Linked DNA regions of Homo sapiens: regions 2 and 3 are each linked to region 1. Evidence: promoter capture Hi-C in 16 types of primary human blood cells and fetal thymus (Javierre and others, 2016). All regions are on one chromosome and are shown on one strand. The core of a region is centred on a gene start or on the middle of the fragment in contact, and the rest is flanking DNA. Distances in the headings are between cores, read along the strand shown. Region 1 holds the start of ZNF671 (zinc finger protein 671). Region 2 holds the start of ZNF260 (zinc finger protein 260). Region 3 overlaps ZNF540 (zinc finger protein 540).

Region 1 (3,924 bases), core at 528-3,027:
TCATTATGATGTTAGCTGGTTATTTTGCTCATTAGTTGATGCAGTTTCTTCCTAGCCTTGATGGTCTTTACAATTTGGCATGTTTTTGCAGTGGCTGGTACCAGTTGTTCCTTTCCATGTTTAGTGCTTCCTTCAGGAGCTCTTTTAGGGCAGGCCTGGTGGTGACAAAATCTCTCAGCATTTGCTTGTCTGTAAAGTATTTTATTTCTCCTTCACTTATGAAGCTTAGTTTGGCTGGATATGAAATTCCGGGTTGAAAATTCTTTTCTTTAAGACTGTTGCCTTCTTTAGAATATTTATTTAGGGTATTGTGACAAAGTCAAAAGGTGATGCAGGACAAAAATCATTATATGCAGGACATGTCCTGTATGTATAGGAATCTTGGAAATTTTATTAGTGATGTCTTTCATGCTACTAACACATTTGAAAAACACCTACTGAGAGCTCGTATGTGTTCCTTGGATGTGTATTTTAACAGTGAATTATCAAGACAGCACAACTTCACTGTTGATTTTTACCATTCTGATATCTTCTTTACAATTGCTCAGCATTTTCAGGAAAAAAGAGTCACATTTTGTTGACAAAGTGTGGTCAAGATCACAACACAACCATATGCTTAACTTCATTCTTTCACTTATACTTTAGTATTCAGGCTCAAACTTTACTGAGATCTTAACTTTGTCCATCTATCACAGATATTTCCTTAGAGCAATTTCTTTCATTATCTTCAAATAACTACGGAATCATTATTAATAGCTGTCAGGATTTTTCCCCCGGGGATAATCTCACCTCCTAACACAGACACCATACTTACAATGACAATGACAGGTTAAATGGTAATTGCACTGTGTTTTGCTGTGATGGAGACATCACTGATTACCCAGGCAGGAAGAGTTTTCTGAAGAAATCTGTCCACTGGTTTCAGGGAGACTCCACATCATCCCTCTTCCTTCTTCCACTCCAAGGCCTTGTTTGGAATATTTTCTCTTCCGTCTCTGACCAAACTGAAGCTCACAAAAGTTACTGTAAAGCTTGAGTGCACACATATTTAAAAAGCAACAAGGTAATAGTTATTAGCTTCTAGCTGTGAGTGTACGCAAAGAGACATTGTGGTGTGGTGTATCTATTTAGTTTTGCAGCTTTGGGGAACATCTGAAATGTCTCAACATTTCTGCGATCGGTGCATACTACACTCCAGGGAATCTAGGTCCAGGCCTTTTAAGAGGACAGAAGTCAGCCGGGCACCATGGCTCACTCCTGTAATCCCAGCACTTTGGGAGGCCGAAGCAGGCAAATCACAAAGTCAGGAGTTCGAGACCAGCCTGGCCAACATGGTGAAATCCCGTACTCTGCTAAAAGTACTAAAATTAGCCTGGCGTGGTGGCGGGCCCCTGTAGTCCCAATTACTTGGGAGGCTGAGGCAGGAGAATCGCTTGAACCCGGGAGGCGGAGGTTGCAGTCAGCCGAGATCGCGCCACTGCACTGCAGCCTGGGAGACAGAGCGAGACTCTGTCTCAAAAAAAAAAAAAAAAAAAAAAAAGAGGACGGAAGTCCTGTCAGCCCTTTGAAACTCGGGTTACTTTTCCCAAACAACTTGGCCCTCCTACTTCGAGTTTTCCCAAGAGCCCAGGCCGAGAATCCCCTGCCTTGAAGGATAGCTCAGTGGGAACCACACTCTACCCACAAACCTATACGTTGCATACCCAATGAGGGCCCAGGAGAGGGGTGTTTCAGTGCCTGCGGGGGGTGCGTGGGCGGGACTTCCGGCTCCTCCTTGTAGCGGACATTTTGTTTCTGTCAGGCTGTCCCTGGCCGGGGTTCTGTAACGCTTGTGTGGGCCGCAGGTGGAGGTGTTGGGAAAGCGCGGAGGAGATGTTGTCCCCAGTGTCCCGAGACGCGTCTGATGCTCTGCAGGGACGGAAGTGCCTGCGTCCCCGATCGAGACGCCTGCCGCTCCCGGCAGCTGTCCGCGCCCACGGTCCTATGGCGGAGCTAACGGACTCCGCGCGGGTGGGTGCTGCGTCCTCCGGGCCCTCAGTCACCCTTTCTCCGACTCCGAATCGTAAAGTGCCTGCAGCCCCTGTGTCCCAGGACAGCGACGCACTCTTGGGGCGGGGTCCTATCTCGGTGTGGGTGGGTGTGGGAGAGTTACGGGCGGAGGGGACGGCGCAGGTAAAGGCTCGGGGGTGCTGCTGACCCCCAAACATTTGGGAGACAGGGTTCTCATCAACACAGAGCAGAGTTTGAGGAACTGTGACTGGAATGGCAGGCTGAGAAGTTGTCGCTTCATTCTGAGGGCGTTGAGATTAACTGAGGGTTTTGAATAGAAGGACGTGATCTTAGCTGGGATTTTAAGTGTCTCGAAATTTGCTCAGGGGAGAACATTAGTTTGGGGTGGGGACTGCGAGGATGGATACGAGGAGACCGGTAAGGAGGCTACTGCAGTGGATTCCAGGAATGCTTTGGTGGTGGATGTACCAAGAGTAATGGCAGGTGAGTGGGTAGAAGTGATCATATTCTGGGTAGGTTTTAAATTTGAAACCAACAGGATTTTCTGCTCCATCATATGCAGCTATGACTGAAAGTAAGGCATGAAAGAGCAAGGTGTTTTTGTTGTTTTTCCATGAACGTTTGGATTTTGGAATGGTGACTTTGAGATGTCTCAGAGTGGAGGCTTCCTCACTTAGGCAACTAGAGAGGAAGGTCTGAAGTTGTGGGGAAGGGGCTGGGCTTAGAATATCTTTGGGGTGAAGGGAGCGGTCTGGAGTAGGTCAAGGCCAGGAGGTCAGATTTAAGTGGGGCAGTCTTAAGTATGTTATTTCATATCTCTGGGGTAAGAGATGAGAAGGCTGGGACTGCAGGGCAGGGAAGAGGGAGTGGGCATTCTTGAGACTCCCCCCAGAAGAGAAGGGTCCTGCCATTTGAAAGGGTTCTTTTCAGTGTTTGCAGGAGGAGAGAGCTGTAGGGTATGAGGAGTTTGGCCTGGGATGGCAACGATGGGTGGTGTGCTATTGCTACTATCTGATTATCTCACCCTCATTTTGTGTGTTTTCTTTTAGTTTTAGTTTATTTATTTTTTTTATTTTTTTTGAGACGAAGTCTCACTCTGTCGCCCAGGGTGGGATGCAGTGGCTTATTGCAACCTCTACCTCCCGGGTTCAAGAGATTCTCCCGCCTCAGCCTCCCAAGTAGTTGAGATTACAGGTGCCCACAACCACCCCTGGCTAATTTTAGTATTTATAGTAGAGACGGGGGTGGGGAGGTGGGAGGGGTGGGGTGGGGTGGGGAGGTGGGAGGGGTGGGGTGGGGGCGGGGGAGTGGGGGGGACGTTCACCGTGTTGGCCCAGGTGGTCTTGAACTCCCGACCTCAACTGATCCACCGGCCCCAGCCTTCCAAAGTGTTTGGATTACAGTTGTGAGCCACTGCACTTGGCTTTGGTTTTATTTTATTTATTTATTTTTTTTTTGGAGACGAGTCTCGCTCTGTCACCCAGGCTGGAGTGCAATGGTGCGATCTTGGCTCACTGCAGCTTCTGCCTCCCAGATTCAAGTGATTCTCCTGCCTCAGTTTTCCCAGTAGCTGGGATTACAGGCATGCATCACCATGCCCAGCTAATTTTTGTATTTTATTAGATAGAGTTTCACCATGTTGGCCAGGCTGGTCTCAAACTCGTGACCTCAGTTGATCCACTCCCTTCGGCCTCCCAAAGTGCTGGGATTACAAGAGTGAGCCACCATGCCTTGGCCAGGTTTTGTTTTGTTTTGTTTTTTTGAGATGGAGTCTTGCTCTTGTCACCCAGGCTGGAGTGCAGTGGCGCGATCTCGGCTCACTGCAACCTGTCTCCTGGGTTCAAGCAGTTCTCCTACCTCAGCCTCCCGAGTAGCTGGGATTACAGGTGCCCACCACCACACCCCGCTAATTTT
Region 2 (3,924 bases), core at 386-2,885, about 21 Mb after region 1:
ATCCCAGCACTTTGGGAGGCCGAGGTGGACGGTTCACAAGGTTAGGAGTTCAAGACAAGCCAGGCCAACATAGTGAAGCCCCGTCTCTACTAAAAATACAACAACAAAAAAATTACCCGGGCGTGGTGGCCGGCACCTGTAATCCTAGCTACTCGGTAGGCTGAGGAAGGAGAATCGCTTGAACCTGGGAGGCGGAGGTTGCAGTGAGCCGAGATCGCGCCACTGCACACCAGCCCGGGCGACAGTGCGAGACTCCATCTCAAAAAAAAAAAAAATCAGGTCCTGGAAAAATAAAGCATTTCAGGAACAAAGAGAAAACTTCAAGGCACCTTAAACATGGCTTTTAGATATCACAACCGTTATTTCCTCTCCTCTGGGGAACCTCTCTTGGAGGACAGAAATGAGAAGGGAGACAATACACCTCCCCTAGGGCCCAAATGACAAGGCCAGAGCTTACTCTGCGTTCCCCTCCCCCGCCATGGGAGGGCTATCAGAGGAAACTGGGGCTTCCAACTCAAAACTCAGTGTCATAGAAAAATCCCCTTTACTATCACGGGGCCGAGCTGTCTTCTGCTCTCACATATGACTATGTGTGACATTTGGTCAAAGACACACAAACACAGTCTCAACTCCACGCACACCCAATGCTTCACAGTCACACACCCACCACTGTACACAAAGTCACAAGCACCCACCCTCCATACTCCCACACAAGGACACAGAGTCACAACTACATAAGTACAAAGCTCCCTATATCTGCACACAAACGAACATATGGTCACAGAGTTACAATCACACACCCACCGCGGGCACACAGTCACAGCTAACCCACACCCTCACACAGCGTTACACAGTCACACAATAACAGTCCTAACACAGGGACTCACGGGACACCCGCAGAGTCCTCCCCACATCCGTACACAAGGTGTCACACACAATCACAATCACACACACACTGTGCTAGGACATACATTCACAAAAACACAATTTCACAACCGCCCTTCTCGGCGCGTTCCGCCTGAACAGACTTAATACTCAGTCTCAACCTCCGCACCGGATTCCAGACGCTTCACCTCCAACCTCCTCCTGATCCTGTAGTCTCCGAGCCGACCCGCTCAGAGGCCAGCACCTGGGTCGCGTGCAGCTCTCCCCCGAGCCGCGGGAGTCGCGAGGGGAGGGGCCGAGGGCGCGGCGCCTTCTGGGAAATGTAGTTCAGCGCCACGCCCGCGATGAGCAAGATGGCGCCCGGCTTGAGCCCAGCCAAAGGGATTACCCTCATTCCCGAACCGTGTCTGAGAGTCTCCTGGGGTTCCTGGCTTAGTATCGCACCGTGGCTGTTACATAAAGTCAGCACAGCGTGTTTAAGCTGATGTTACACCACTACCCAATCCCAGGGATAGAGTAAACTAAGACTAAGGCCTTACACCCCTGCCCCGGCCAGGGAGACAGTCCCACAAGCTCTGGCGGAGGAAAAGTTCGCGCGAAAAGCTGACTCAAACCGCTGAACCTTCTGGGAAATGTAGTCTACCCTCAAAAGAGTGGCACGGAGGACGGGCCAAGATCTCTCGATTCCGTCCGGTTCTGAGTCGGGGCCTGGCCCAGCCCAGGAGACCTCTGGGAGCGCTGCCCGCGGAAGGAGTGCGCAGGCGCGGAATCTCCGACTTGCCATGGTCGTCTTTGTCTGCCGGTGAGTTGGGTTTCGGCCCTGTGGGACTTGGGTTTCTGGACACTGAAACGGGCCAGGGACGCTGGAGGGGAGGATTTGCAGTGCCTGCGACGGGGCTGGGAGTATGGAGGGGAGGAATCGCCTTCTATGATGTGCGGTGATCCGAGCTTGTGTGGCTGGGGGCAGGGGTACAGTTCGGGTGGGTTCGCGGGTGGGTGACCGAGAGTGTGAGGGGGTGTTGAGGGTGCAGAGTTAGTGAGAAACTGGTTCCAAGTTTGTGAGGATGGACGGATGGCTTTGTGAGGTAGTAACCTCTAAGCCTCACTTTTCTCATTTCTAAAATAATAAAGATGCGTTTTCTGGAAAATAGGAAACGGAAAAGGCTAAGGAATTGAGCGGATAAGTAATTTTAAAGGTGATTTTTTATATAAAAGCAGACCTATTGTGGAGTAGAAAACAAAATCAGCATTACCTTTCCATTATTTTTTTAAAGAGGCAAGATTTCGGAAAAACTTGTTACTGGGTGCCTGTACACCCAGTAGGCATTGACTTTTCTTAATACTTTGGAGAAACTTTGGTGCAGTTGCTTGGAGAAACCCTGAACTAAGGAATATCTTTAAGAGGTAGTTTCCAATAGCGCAGACGGCACAGAATTTGGAAGCTACTTGTCCTGCCTTTAGCGCAGAGGTCAAGAAACTCCCTAGTTCGTCAGTGAGGGCAGCAATCTCACTCCTAATTTAATCAGGGTTTCCCCAGCCTTTTGTAAATATAGGGGAAATTCTTTTCTTGTGTATACAAAGATAGAAGTATCCTATCTTCAAGTATCTTGTCACACTTATTCTTAACATATCAACATATTCAAGTATCTTGTCACACTTATTCTTAACATATTTTTCAATAAAATAAAAAAGTAACAGGGTTAATAGTTTTGAAATATACAGAAAAAGTAAAAGATACAAAGAAGACAGGACTTAGTTTCTGCTTTTCCCCTAACTATTGGTGTTTCTAAGTTTCTGGCCTTGATCATCTAAGTACTCCTATCAGCAACAACATTACACTGCCATCCATGGCTTCATCTAATACAGATGACTAATAAATGTCTGTTTCTGCTGGAGGCTTGTCCTGAGCTCCTAATCCATATTATCTAATTGCCCAATGTGCAGTCCACCTGGAAGTTACAGGGAACTTCAAGCTCTTTATGTCTAAAGGGCTCCTTCTTCCTGCAGTCTGCCTCCATCTATTTCCCCTCTGTACCTGTTTCAGCAATTTATAGCACTGTCTAGCCAGGTTCTAAGGCACTTACATCTTAGAGAAGGCTTCTAAGTAAGTTTGATCCTTTGATTTGTTATATCCCATTACAAATTGTAAACCAAGGTTTCTCAGCACACATAATCATAAATGTATATGTTTGCTGAATCAGTGAATGAACAGTCAGCCCTCTGTGTCTGTAGGCTCTGCTTCCACGGATTCAACAAACATGAATCATAACTGTTGTTAAGCTTGCGATGGTTGTATCTGTACGTGTACAGATTTTTTTTTCTTGTCATGATTCCCTAAACAATACAGTATAACAACTATTTACCAGACATTTACGTTGTATTACGTATGATAAGTAATCTGGAGATAATTTTAAAGTATATGGGAGGATGTGCATAGGTTATATGTAAATATACTTCCATTCACTTTATTTTTATTTTTTTGAGATGGAGTCTCACTCTGTCACCCAGACTGGAGTGCAGTGGTGCAATCTCGGCTCACTGCCACCTCTGCCTCCTGGGTTCAAGCGATTCTCCTGCCTCAGCCTCCCAAGTAGCTGAGGTACAGGTGTGTGCCACCATGCCCAGCTAATTTTTTTATTTTTAGTAGAGACAGGGTTTCACCATCTTGGCCAGCCTGGTCTCGAACTCCTGACCTCAGGTGGTCAGCCTGCCTCAGCCTCCCAAAGTGCTGGGATTACAGGCGTGAGCCACCATGCCTGGCTTTATATTTGAAGTATAAGGGACTTGAGCATCTGCAGATTTTGGTATCCACAGTGATCCTGGAACCAATCTCCTGTGATATCAAGGGAAGATTATTATTATAGGACACTTACTATATTTAACTTCTCCTAGTTAATCTAAGTAAAATATTAGTCCTCTAAATTTTTTAGAGCTCTGACCTATAAATACCATCAGAATAATTTCCTGTATTTTTTTCCATATCACTCAAGGTTGGTTACTTCAGACTTATGAGAAAAGTGTTATGGGGAAAAATTATAT
Region 3 (3,924 bases), core at 508-3,007, about 20 Mb after region 1:
AGCCTATACTGCACATCTCTGCACATATATTCTCTCTTCGAAGAGCCTTCCCTGGGCAGCCCACCTCAATTAAACCTGCCCAAACTCTATCTCTTTACCCTTCATAGGTTTCTTTCATAGCATGCATCATTATTTAATATTATATATTCATTTGTTTACAGTTTACTATGTATCTCTGCTACTACAATGTTAATTCCATTAGTGTAGGGAGGTTTTGGCCTTATTCACCAAGGCACTGATAACACTTGGCACAGAGTGAGCACTCGGTAAATATATGCTGAATATGTGAAAGACTGAACTTTTAGGCATTAGAAACAAGCACACATGTCAATGGAGAAAAGATAGGAAGCAATTGATTGCACTAGGAAAGAGCATTCCCTTTACTGAAATGGAGAGTAATACGAGGGGAAACAAAAACAAAGACAGGTGGTAAGTAGGAGCCAAGATGAGGTTCTTTTGATAGTTCATGCTCAGATGATCTGTTTTCTTCCCTGTCTTAACCTTTACTCCAAAGGCCTGAGGCCTCTGAGAGTAACTCCCTAAACAGCATGCAAAGCCTGTATATGCTCCCTCACCAGCTGGCCGTGACTGGCAATGAGGGCTTCCATCTGCCTGATGAACTCTCAACTCACCGGGGCACTGTCTTCCTGTCACATCCCTCGCCACCACGCAGGGCTCTTTCCCTTGCTCCAGTAAGGTAATCACATCTGGCTTTGAGCCAGAATATCCTGCTTACAAGAAAGAAATAAAAGAATATATAGAAATAAAACATTGCACATTCAGAAACATTTTGAGACTTGGTTAAATTTATATGGATCAACATGATTTCGATGAAGACTTCGGAAAAAACTGACAGGATTAAAGAATATTCAACTTAGTGTAACCTCAGGATCCCAGAGAATAAAGAAACTTGATGGGCAGGGGAATTAAAATTCATCTAGGAGAATTTTAATTCATTTTGGAATTAAAACTCATACAGACTGGCTCTATTGAGAGGCAGTAGTTATTGAGGGCATAGCCTCTGAAGCCAGACTATGTGGGTCCAAATTCTACTCTACTACCTATTGACTAATGATTGTAAACAAACTGGTTAAATTATTTGGGCCTCAGTTTTTTCATCTGTAAAATGAAAATAAAAGTAGTACCTTTTATTTTCTTTTTTTCTTTTGTATCTTGTAGCTAGTACTTAGAATGATGCCTGGTATATAGTAAGCACTCTATTAGCTATTATTATTTTTGTTGTTGTTAATTTACTTAGAGCAAAACAAGAAGCTTCCTAAAATATTTCTAGGTTCTTGCTAAGATATTCATTTAAAGTTAGATGCTAAGTTAATAAATTTTATTTTACTTTAACTAATTTCAACTTTTATTTTAGATACAGGGCCATACGTGCAGGTTTGTTACCTGGGGATATTGTGTGATGCTGAGGTTTGAGGTACATTTGATCCCACCACCCAGGTACTGAGCATAATGTCCAATAGGTAAAATTTTCAATCACAAATCAGTAAGAGAAAATATTTGTTTTAGGAAGTAGAATGCATTCACTTTAATTTTAAATCAATGTTATTGGTCTGAACCATGACATGTAAATTGTAGACCCTGGGTAGGGCTGTTATCCTTATAGGCATGTTACCAAATAACAGAGCATCCATAGCAATTCTGAGCTCAAATGCAATGTGAAACCTGATTTCATTGACATTGGCTTTGGAGTAAATGCCCCAAAATTCAAATCCAGTCTCTTAACTATTAAGGAAGAAGTAACTACAGTAATGGATTAAGGAACATTTCATGAGGCTCAGTGAGGTATGGTGAAAATGAAAGCATTTAGTGGAAGTGCCATTCACAAACCATCAAAGTTCAGTCCATTCCTTGAGGAAGAGAGAAGAAATTCAGCTAGTTTCTTAATAATTAGTCCTAAATTTGTGGAAGAGAAAGCTACTATTTCAGATAACAGAGTCTACATTATTTGACATAGGTGACCTTACCCAGTGAGACCAAGTTATTATAATTCTCCAACATCACATCTCTGTACAATTTCCTCTGGGTAGTGTCCAGGCACTCCCATTCCTTCTGAGAGAAGTCTATAGCCACATCCCTGAACGTCACCAATGCCTGAAACCATAAACCAACATATTACTGGTGAAATTACAGAACAAGTATTTTAAAAAGAAGAAAAGGAGATAAAAGGTTTCATTGCAGCAAGGGGTACTATACTAAACTCTAGGCTGGGGCTGAAAGCTTATGATAAAGATAGAAGAAAGGAACCAGGTGTTCTAAAGCAGAGTCACCTCATTTTCTTGAAGAATCCAGCCACTATATGCAAAATTTCCTGTATATTATGGGGTTCTTTAACTACTCAAAACATTTCTGGGAACAAATAAATGTTTCCCAATTCAATTAAACAGTGGATACAAGCAAATAAACTATATTTCTACCTCAAAAATTCTCAATAAATTATTACTTAATAATAAATACTTTAAGAAAAACCACTTAATACATAAAAAAGAATCCTATATCCTCTTTTTCCTTTAAGTTTATCTATCTATCTATCTATCTATCGATCAATCGATTGATCAATCGAGACGGAGATCTCACTCTGTTGCCCACGCTGGAGTACAGTGGTGAACTCAGAAGTTCGAGGCCATAGTACCTCACTGCAAATCTGGGAGAATACAATTAACTAATATTTATGTATCTGGATGATTTTCTTATAAGTACTACACACCTTCTTTTTTCTTGAGATTAAGAATATTGATGTAATGAACCAGAATCATACTGATGTCAAGACTAGCACATTCCGTTTAACCACAAAATGCGTCTTACTATGGGTTTTCACCTCAGAGATTCTCAGGAAAGATCCCCTGGCCTCTCTATAAGCAGGCCCCAACCACATACTGAAACTGAGGCCAATCAATATTAAACTGCATTTATCTACAGACACAGGATCTGTGGAAAACTGCAGTGCTTTCCTACGTGTAGTCAAATGATTCCATTCTTGGTTTCATTACACCTCAGATCTGACAAAGGATGGTAAAGTACCTCCCCCTCTAGGAACTTCATGTCTGTTCCATCTCTGCCCTAGACAGAGACTGAGTACCCTGAATGAGTTGGTCAATGTGCATGTGGATACTGGTTAGAAAAGAGAGGGGGCCCATGGGAGGAGCTTGGAAATGTGGGGATGAAGAAAAAATTCTTAGGAAGTGTCAGCATAAAGAGTGAAAATGTTCACATGATCTTTAAAAACAAAATAATCTAAAAAGGAAAGAGAAACTGTGACTTACATGGGCCATGGTTTTACACTCACAAGAACTGCTCAGTCTTCCGCAGGATTATTCTGCTGGAGAAGCAAAGTTCTGAGAAGCCTGAGTTAGAGGAGAAAAAAATGAGACAGTGAGACTAGGTCTGCCTCAGAGGTAACAATATGATATAAATTAATAATCTTTTATTTTCCACTGTTGCTTGCAAATACCTCCCCTACACTTCCCTCACCTCCCTCCGACACACTCACCACAGCAAGGGAACCTGGCTGTACGAGGATGGACACAGTGCAGAGGTTATCCTGCATTAGAACACATGACCAATATTTCAGCAGGAGAGTTCTGGGCCAATCCCCACTATGAGGATACTGATCTAGGCCCAAGGCTGGGATGTTCAGAATTGCCCAGAGTAGATTCTCTTCCCTCAATTCTCACCATCCAAAGGGGACAGACCACATTATCCAAAGCAGACTGCCTTCATGGCCTTAGGAGCTTCCTGGCCTCCCCAGACTTAAAAACGAAAGATAGAACAGACTAGGAGTTTGCAACCTATGGCCCATGGGCCAAATCTGGCCCGCCCATATGTTTTTGTAAATAAAGCTGGAATGGAACACAGCTATGCTCATGTGTTTACTTCTGACTATGGCTACTTTCAGAAAGCTACCAT

Evidence for each region. The method cuts DNA at HindIII sites, captures the fragments that hold promoters and counts their contacts. A CHiCAGO score of 5 or more calls a contact.
Region 2: a contact is called between the fragment with the promoter of ZNF260 here and the fragment with the promoter of ZNF671 in region 1, in 2 of 17 cell types (non-activated CD4 T cells and naive CD8 T cells). The highest score is 11.3, in non-activated CD4 T cells.
Region 3: a fragment that was not itself captured here is called in contact with the fragment with the promoter of ZNF671 in region 1 in 1 of 17 cell types (non-activated CD4 T cells); the score reaches 9.6 in non-activated CD4 T cells.

The regions. Positions count from the first base shown.
Region 1 is chr19:57,725,477-57,729,400 of GRCh38, reverse strand. ZNF671 (zinc finger protein 671) reads left to right here and starts at 1,777. Exons shown (of 4, transcript NM_024833.3): 1 at 1,777-2,010. The coding sequence starts at 1,873. RefSeq lists enhancers at 1,431-1,480, 1,621-2,060, 1,578-2,078 and a silencer at 1,399-1,624. The HindIII fragment of the contact is 7,103 bases long and covers 1,034-3,924 here.
Region 2 is chr19:36,525,982-36,529,905 of GRCh38, reverse strand. ZNF260 (zinc finger protein 260) reads left to right here and starts at 1,635. Exons shown (of 3, transcript NM_001166037.2): 1 at 1,635-1,687. RefSeq lists enhancers at 908-1,107, 919-1,627, 1,258-1,887, 1,628-2,338. The HindIII fragment of the contact is 4,591 bases long and covers 1-3,167 here.
Region 3 is chr19:37,597,814-37,601,737 of GRCh38, reverse strand. It overlaps ZNF540 (zinc finger protein 540), which reads right to left. Exons shown (of 5, transcript NM_001172225.3): 2 at 3,282-3,362; 3 at 1,986-2,112; 4 at 633-728. The coding sequence starts at 3,290. Among named protein-coding and RNA genes, the nearest start is that of ZNF540, 4.9 kb to the right of the region's middle. The HindIII fragment of the contact is 966 bases long and covers 1,275-2,240 here.